Linked DNA regions of Homo sapiens: region 1 is linked to region 2. The links are contacts of gene promoters, found by promoter capture Hi-C in blood cells and fetal thymus (Javierre and others, 2016). All regions are on one chromosome and are shown on one strand. The core of a region is centred on a gene start or on the middle of the fragment in contact, and the rest is flanking DNA. Distances in the headings are between cores, read along the strand shown.

Region 1 (4,725 bases), core at 1,806-4,305, 1.0 Mb after region 2:
CCTCAGCCTCCCAAGGTGCTGGTATTACAGGCATGAGCCACCACACCTGACTGTATAATTATTATATATCAATTAAATTTGTTTAAAAAAATAGGGCTTCTGGAATAAATCATAAAAGAATATTTTAATAAAATTTATAAAAAACAAAAAATATAAAATTTATTAAACAGATTTATTAAACAGAATTTAAAAGGGACTAACCATAAAATAAACAAAAATTGATCAATTATATTATGTTAAAATTAATAACGTCTGTTCATCAAAGACATCACTAAGAAGTAAAAAGTTAAGCCCCAGAGTGGAAGATGTTTCCATACATCTTACTGACAAAAGGCTCCGATTCAGAATACAAGAGAACTCCTAAAATCAATAAGAAAAATACAGACAATCCAATAGAAAAACTGGCCAAGAAACTTGAACAGACACTTTGCAAAAGAGGATATCCAAAGGGCCAGTAAACATATCTAAAGGCACTCAGCTTCTTCAGCTGAAACAAGAATGAGACACCACGACCATCTGCCATTAAGGGTAAAAATAAAAATGACAGTACCAAGAGTTGACAAGGATGAAAAGCAGGTGGAATTCACATAAAACTTCTTGGGAAAAACTATTCAGCAGTTTCCACTAGAAATGATTACCATATGCTCCAGCAGTTCCACTCCTTGGTATATATACACACAGACACACACACACGCACACACACAAATGTGTCTCTATCTTCCCTAAAAAACATATATAAGAATGTTTATAGGAACATTGTTAATATTAATGAAAAATTGTGGACTTTTCATACAACAGAATAGTTAGTACTATAGAGCAGTGAGGATGACACCGATTTGCTACATGCAACACCAGGAATAAATCTTACAAACATAATGTTCAGCTAACAGAGACAGACCCAAAAAGTATATCCTCTTTGGTTACATTTATATAAATTCCAGAATCAGGCAAAACTATTCCACAGTTTAGAAGTCAAGATGGGCCCAGCACAGTGGCTCACGCTTGTAATCCCAGCACTTTGGGAGGCCGAGGTGGGCGGATCATCTGAGGTCAGGAGTTTGAGACCAGCCTGACCAACATGGTGAAACCCATCTCTACTAAAAATACAAAATTAGCTGGGCATGGTGGCACACACCTGTAATCCCAGCTACTCAGGAGTCTGAGGCAGAAGAATTGCTTGAACCCAGGAGGTGGAGGTTGCAGTGAGCCGAGATCACACCATTGCACGCCAGCCTGGGCAACAGAGCAAAACTCCATCTTAAAAAAAAAAAAAAGTCAAGGTGGTGGTTACATTTGGGGCTGTAAAGACTGGATGGTTATACCAGAATGGACTTTGGGCTTCTAATCATAGTGTATTTATTTTTCAGGGTATTAGTAACTTCCTTTGTGGAAATTGATAAAACTATGACCTGTGGTCTGTACACTTTTCTGTATATTTGTTATACTTCAATAAACGTGTATTTTTCCTCAAACATCCAAAGCATTTCACAAGAGAGAAACACTGATTTCTCTTCGCCTAAAACAAATGCGGGATCTCAAGAACCCCTAGCTCAGGTATGAAGCCAACTAAACCTTCACTCTCACAAATGACAGATGTCTCCAGCTGCAATTTTCGAAGGCTGATATATTTCCAAGGTTCAACCGCTCCACTTATGAGGATTTTTCCATACATGGTTCTGATGCTGATAAGATCAGACTTTGTTGGATTTCAGAAATTTATTTTCCATTTCTTAATTGCAATGGCAGCCATAAAACAATTGCAGAAAGACGATTTGCCATCCAAATCTTTAAAAAAAAAAAAAGGAAAGGAAAGAAAGAACAAAGAAAAAAACAACTTAAATGCTAATCCATCTGCATTAGTTGATCCCAGCATCCTCATTTTAAATTCCCATTGAATCTTATTGTATAATTTTAGTGTTTTGCAAAGAAACAAGTTTTTATGATTTCCTACAGGTTGGAATCATAGATATTTATCCCTTTATTCTTGATATTTCATTTTCAACATCAAAAACAGCGTTAATTCAGCTTCACATTTTACCAAATGTTATGTCGATGTTCCAAAACCGCCTGGCCCCAACTTTAATTCCTTCCCACTTTTGATTAGTCTATTCCATGAGAACCACAGCAACTGAAATTGCCTCAGAAGAAAAGAGAAAGAATTAGAGTTTAGTTACTGACTTTTCGAAAGTTCATGGAAATGAATATATAAACCAATCAGGTGATAAATAATTGCTGGTACAAAATGAGCAGTGCAAATGACTTCCTATTGAGATTTTTAAACTTTCTCTATGACTAAGCTATGGTAAAGAGCAGTGTCTACCAATTATAATTTCTAATAAAGAATCTGGCCTAAAAGGTTTTTTCATTACTTTTATTGAGCTATCTAGACTTCTCTCTATTTTTTACAATTGGTACAATTAATCTATAAGAGCAAATTTTAGTCATCTTCCTTTAAAGACTATGTCATTCTGATACTAATTTTATCTTATATCAAGATAAAAACCTACATAAGGAGAACAAAAACTAATAAGTCACAACTTGTACTTTCATTCAGAAAAATTGAAAAGAACATTTCTTATTTAAAGTAGTGGTAAATAGTTAGATTTTCTTCCACTACTAAAAGTCTTTACCAATAAAAATGTGCATACCTGTAATATATTCAGAATGCAGTGAAATCATAAAATCATAGATAAATAAAAAATATATTTACCTGCCAATATCTGTTTTTATTACTGACAATTGGGTAGGAAAACAATTTTGCAAGTCTGACCATTCCTTTAGAAATCACAATGACCCTAAAGTAATATTTTTCTTCCTCTAAGTGTTAGTAATTTCCATGGCAACTCTCCATCTGCTTTTCACTATTTTCACAGACTTTTTAAATTAAGCTTACATATGTCAATGTTCCAAGATTATCTTTGTGTTTGCATAAACCATATGGCTCTTTGACAAAGTTCATTATGCCATAACATTAGAGAAATATTTAAATGTCACATCTGTTATGTAAAAAAAAGAAAACTGATGTAAAATAGAAGTGAAGTTGGGATGGGAAGTACTATTTCTACAAATTCATTTGTAATCAATTTTTAAGCCAATGACTACAGGCTTCTCCTTAGTTTCTAAATCAGAAAAATGATTTAGATTCCAAGGAGAAAGTATCCTATACAGAATATTCTTAAGTTTATCCAATACTTAAAATGTATAGGAAATATCCAAGCTTCCCAATATAACCAGATATTAGCAGTCTCCATCACATGAATTACACAAGTTTTACTAAGGATTATATAAAAGGGTAAGGTCTCCTTTACACTATAGTTTCAATGTTTGCTCCTCCAAAACTCATGTTGAAATTTAATTGCTATTATAACAGCTTTAATGATGTGGGACCATTCAAAGGTGTTTAGGCCAGGAGAGTTCCACCGTCATGGGTGGAATTGGTGCCATTATAAAAGGGCAAGTTCAGCCCCCTCTTGCTCTCTCTCATCCTCTCACCTTCTGCCATGAAATGATGTAGCAAGAAGACCCTCGCAAACAGCCAGCATCTTGATATTGTACTTCCCAGCCTCCAGAACTCTGAGCCGATAAATATCTGTTCATTTTAAATTGTCAAGTCTCATGTATTCTATTATAGCAGCACAATGGACCAAGACACCTTTAAAAAAAAAAAAAAAAACTTACTAAAAGCCAGATGGGAGCTATGTGTCACACAAGTTTGGAACTTCTTTTCCCACTACCAAATCCTTGTCATAATGTTAATAGAGAATGGCTTCAAAAATAATTAGGACCATGAGAAGTGTCCTGTTTTGAAAAAAATTAAACTTTCATCCAAGATTTATTATTTATTCTTCAGTCATATGTGACTGAAATCTGCCACAAGATCTTACAGAGAAGAAAAACCAACAGAACCCTTAATCTTTAACTATTGAGACTTTGGTACTAAGAAAGGCAATTATTTTAATGGCTACATTTCCTACCAAAAAAAAACCATTAATTTTAAGAAGACTTTCTTAAAGATGCAAAAAAATAATCTTATATGGCATTGTCCAATGGATTATTTTCTTCTTTTTTAAGTAGGTAGATCAGTCTTGCATATAGAGAAGGCACATGTTCGATGACTTCTTTAGAAGAGTTGAGAAGAATGTCACTGTTACAGCCTTATCTACCACTCTAACTTGCTCTTGAGCCCCAAATCTCTACTGTCTGCTTTTATCCGTTTAGGTCATTGAAATTCCCTGAAGAAATACTCACATCTGAGAAAGACAAACCATGACATGTCAGCTCAGTTTATTTGCATTTCCCTAGCAAAGAATAGTGTGCTGAGAAAATAGAATAAGTATGTTTCCATAAGATAGGATGCAAGTAGCCGGGTGCAGTGGCTCATGCTTATAAGCCCAGCCCTTTGAGAGGCCAAGGCAGGCAGATCGCGAGGTCAGGGGTTCAAGACCAGCATGGCCCATATGGTGAAACCCTGTCTCTACTAAAAAAAATACAAAAATTATCCGGGCGTGGTGGCGGGCGCCTGTAGTCCCAGCTACTCGGAAGACTGAGGCAGAAGAATCGCTTGAACCCAGGAGGCGGAGGTTTCAGTGAGCCAAGATTGTGCCACTGCACTCCAACCTGGGTGACAGAGCGAGACTTGGTCTCAAAAAAAAAGAGATAGGATGTTAGTGTCCCCACTGGAGCTCTACCTAGCAAGACCAGACTGGAGTAATCACCTACAGAAAA
Region 2 (4,643 bases), core at 894-3,393:
GAAAACAGGGTTTGGGAAATGCAGAGTTATACAATGTTAAATAGGTATCTTTACTACAAAACTATGAGTAAAAATATTGCCAAGCAAGAGATATACAAACCAGAAAGGTTTTAAAATAAGAAACGGATAATTATTAAATTTCTGGCTTAAATTGCAATATTCTTCAAAGGATTAAATTATATAATTCAAATTGGCCTTCTGTTTTTGGGGATTCAGATATCATATTATTTCTCATCAGTCATAATATTAAAGTCAGTGACCAGAAAATACAAATAAATTGTTTAATAATAAAATCTGCTATCATTTATCCTAAATTTATCTTTAAAAGATCCAAAGTGTTACATCTAGAATGCTAATGTCAAAGAGAAAAAATAATTATGTTAAAAACACTACTGAAAAACTTGAGATACTATAGCACATTTTAAGTTATCTAATATATGGAGGTGTTGACACAAAAATCACTGTAACTAAAATTCAAAAGTATAATGAAATATAAATATAGTCATCTCAGTTCACTTTGTGTTAGGGCAAAATAGGATCCAGCTTAAACTATTGGCACTGCATAGCTTTACTGAAGTGTCTTGATGGTTAATGCGCAAATTATTGCAAGTGTAGTATGTTCCAAGGAGGCTACAGTTCATCCCCTGTAAAAAGAGAGGGAAGGAAGCTCAATGACATGAACGGAAAGATCCTTGGGGCCTGCAGGCTCTCTCTCTTCATTTGCAACTGCAGAAGTAGAGCAAGAGTACACAGTTATTCAGAATTATTTGCATTTGGCAAATCCTTAATTGATCTCTGGCCACTTGAATAGATTCTTCCAGGAAAAGACATACGACAGTTTTCATCCAATACCCTGGGTTTGGAGCATAACTTATTCTGGAGGCCAAAGAAAAACAAGCCAAGCAGTTTCTCTTCCTTTGGTTCAAAAACATTGAATAATCAGTCCTCATTAGTTTCAAAATCAGCCCTCCAGATTTTAAATGGAGAGAGCAAGTGGCTTAGGAAGGTTGTAGTTAGATCCCGCAGATGTACTCAACCCCTCTGCTCTGCAACTGACTCGGACTCTGTCCAGCAATCAGTCCCCAAGGACTGCCACAGAGAAAGTCCTAAAGGCAACCACGCTCCTCCCTCTCTTCTCTTGGCCATCTCCTGTGAGGAAAACCTCTGTCCTGGCTTGACTTCTGGACACCAGGATGCCTCCCTTCAGACAAACTAAAAAATAGCCTCACGGCACTTGCTGCAGAGGAGTGTGTGTTGTTTAGAAACTAATTTCTCACCTAATACAAATTATCTGTGTCAGATTCAGATTTAATAAGTACTATTTTTGTGTTGAGTAATGTACGTACTTTTTCTAATCCTTAAAACAACCCAACAAACGTAATATTAGAATTCCATTTTTTAAATTAGATGGCCCAAAGCAATTAAGTGACTTGTCAAAAGCTAAACAATTTATAAGCATGAGACTCAAAATTTGAACTCAAATTTGAGTTTATCTGATTTCTTTAACCAATCTTCTCTCTTATTTCCATCAAACTAATGAGGGGATCATCACCTTTCACTGATATTTTTATGGATAAAACATAAATCGCACAGAAATTAAGGGTTAATCTCCCATAAGAATCTGATGTATTAGTCACAAAATATAAAATGAGAGAACCAAGTCTTACCTGGAGGAAGAGATCAAAGATAGCCAGTTCCTTTCAATGTGCTCAGCAAGAGGATGGACCACACACCACAGACTGAAAGAGGAAACTGAGGTAAACTCCACAGCAATTTTGAACAATTTTGCCAGGTGGGGAGAGTGTGGGTGGACACAAGCAGAGGAGATTAGGGAAAAGAAAAGATGAAGGGCATGGTCTCACCCCTGAGCGATCTCTTCTCTTTCCTCTTTCTTCCTGGCCTCTTTTTTCTGGCAGTCAGCAGAGAATTGGCCACGCTGGCAAGGCCACTGACGTGCATCTCAGCTCCCAGGGCACAGAAAGAGCTGAAGCTTTTGAGCCATTTCTTTGCAATTTGCTGCAAGTTTAAGGCCACACGTGATAAAGCTTTCTTTATGGGAGAGAGTGAATAAAAGAAAAGACCACTTGTGATCTTACTTGCTGATTCCCAGAAAACACAACTCCGCAGGGGGCAGAGGGTAAGGAACAGAAGCCAGAGGAGGGCGGAAGTTTATAACAGAGACCCCTCCTCCTTCCAGAAAGTTTTTAAGCCAACTATTCCTTAGGGACATCACTGGGATCCTTGTGTTTTCTTTGTTTGTGTGTTTTGGTTTTGGTTTGTTTTGTTTTGTCTTTAACGGTTCTTGGGCTAATTTGCTACATGGTTTTCTTTTCCATTGGTGTTCTAGAATCTTTAAGGACCAAGTATCAGGTCACAATCAAAGCTCTGCAGCGCTCTGTACAAAAAGAGTTAATTCTCAGAGACATGATCAGTTGCTCATATTTACAATTTCTATGAGTTTTGAAAACAGAAAAGAAACACGTTGAATTTTTGGCATTCAATTGTTTATTCTGCCTAATTCCAAGGATAAATAAATCCTTGCACTGAGAAAGTCCACAATTCTAATACATTCTTTTTCCAAGAGAAAAACTTTAGAGGATCTTAAGCAGTAGTAGTTTGCATTTATTTTCTACCAATAAATAAATTTGCTACCAGAATTATCCAAGATTCACCCTACTCTTAAGTGGCTGAGACTCTGGGATGGTCACTTAATTTTACTGAGTCTCAACTTCTTCCTTTGTAAAGCAGAATTTTTTTGTTTAAAAAAAAAAAAAACAGATTTATAGGGCTGTTTTAAGGATTAAATTATATAATGTATTCAAAAGCACATTGCAAATGAGCGGAAGGTATCATCATTTTATATATATATATATTTAGTTCACATAATGGTCAGAATAGTTAATATTATTCAAGCACATTTTACTACAAAAGAAAGAAAAGAAAATGCAAGAAAAATGGGTTTATATTAAACCTTGCAATGAAGCAATGGTGTTTTCACACTCTGAAAGGCCAAATATTTTACTTTAACAATCAAACCAGACTTTTCCATCGGAAATAGTGAGCAAACATCCGAATACATTGAGTGTTAGTCTAGACTTCTCAGTGTCTAACAGGTGGCCAGACCACTGTTTTATTCAAGAGGAGACAGTATTTACCAGCCCAAAGGGCATAATTTTCCTCACCAAGAAATGAAATTCTCCCTTGAGAATGTAATTTTGTCTATTCCCAACTGGCTCAGTCTCACTCTCCAACACGATTCCTTTTCTTATTTCCAGAGTCCACAGTTAATGTTACTGTTTTGAATGCACATAATGTTTACACTTATTCAGAGCTTCTTATGTGCAACCTTGCATTGGATTGTAGCCTACTTCAGCCTTTCATTCCCATTTCCAAACTCTAGATGAGGGAGTTAACAAACTTCTATAAAGGGACAAATAAGAAATATTTTAGGTTTTGTAGGACCATGCAATCTCTATCACAACCACTCACCTCTGCCATTCTGGTGGTAAATTAACCACAGACAACATATAAATGAATGCATTTCCTAAGACTGCACTAACAAAGTACTACAAGCTGAGTGACCTAAAACAGAACTTTATTGTCTCACACTTTTGGAGGCCAGAAGTCAAAAATCAAGGTGTCAGCAGAGCCATGCTCCCTCTGAGACCTGTAGGGAAGAATCCTCCTTACCTCTTCCACCTCCTGGTGTTTGCTGACAGCCTGAACTCCTTGTTTTATAGGTGTATCACTCCAACAGCTGCTTCTGTTACCACATGGCCATCTTCTCCCTTTATGTCTCTGTCCTCTGTACTTAAAAAAACGCTAGTCATCTTTGGCTGGGGACCACCCTCATGACCTCATCTTAACTTGATAAGGTCTGCTAAGACTCTCTTTTCAGGAAAGGTGACATTCACAGGTACCGGGGGTTAGGACTTCCTCATATCTTTTTGGGAGACACAATTCAAGCCAGTACACTCATATTTTCATTTTCCTCCTTACTTGAATTTTTTCATGCAATTATTTTAATCACTTCCTTCTGTATACCCTCAATTCTCCTGTTTCTCTTTCAATTTATTGATCTTCCCAGGCAAAGCTCACCTCAGATAAATCCACTTTCTTTCTTCTTAGTATTTGCATCCGCACTGTTTTAAGTGATTGAAGAACAACTCAGTAACATGCCCTTAGGGCTTATTTTATATTTATAACCACTAAACTCACTGAGTCATAGAGGCATTGCTAGACGTAATACTTTTTAATGACCCAATCACTTTACCTCTCTCAAATCTTCATTTCTGGCTGCACCCTGATTATTAGCTGATGATCTTGTCTAGGAAATTCACTAACTAAACAGAAATATCAGGAGAAATATTATACTCTGTCCTCATGACATCTACTCTCTACCCAAATGTACATTGCTATTAGCTGTCTTCCTTCTTGCTCCTACAGTCCATGTTTCTAAGCCCAAACTTTAGTCACATTCCTTGTATATATTTCCTCTCCTCCAGTTCATTTTTCACCAACTCTAATCAGGTTTTGCCTTTACCACTCCAATGCAAATATTTTCATCAAGAACATTAAAGGCATTCACACTAATAAATCCAGTGATCAATATCCAGACCTCATTTTAATTGATGTATTAGCAG

The links. The method cuts DNA at HindIII sites, captures the fragments that hold promoters and counts their contacts. A CHiCAGO score of 5 or more calls a contact.
Region 1: a fragment that was not itself captured here is called in contact with the fragment with the promoter of SLCO1C1 in region 2 in 1 of 17 cell types (M0 macrophages); the score reaches 5.2 in M0 macrophages.

What each region holds. Positions count from the first base shown.
Region 1 is chr12:19,670,066-19,674,790 of GRCh38, reverse strand. It overlaps LOC101928387 (a long non-coding RNA gene), which reads right to left. Exons shown (of 7, transcript XR_007063236.1): 6 at 2,039-3,652; 7 at 1,702-1,785. Among named protein-coding and RNA genes, the nearest start is that of AEBP2, 230 kb to the right of the region's middle. The HindIII fragment of the contact is 329 bases long and covers 2,891-3,219 here.
Region 2 is chr12:20,692,832-20,697,474 of GRCh38, reverse strand. It overlaps SLCO1C1 (solute carrier organic anion transporter family member 1C1), which reads right to left and starts at 2,143. Exons shown (of 15, transcript NM_017435.5): 1 at 1,668-2,143. The HindIII fragment of the contact is 4,383 bases long and covers 2,048-4,643 here.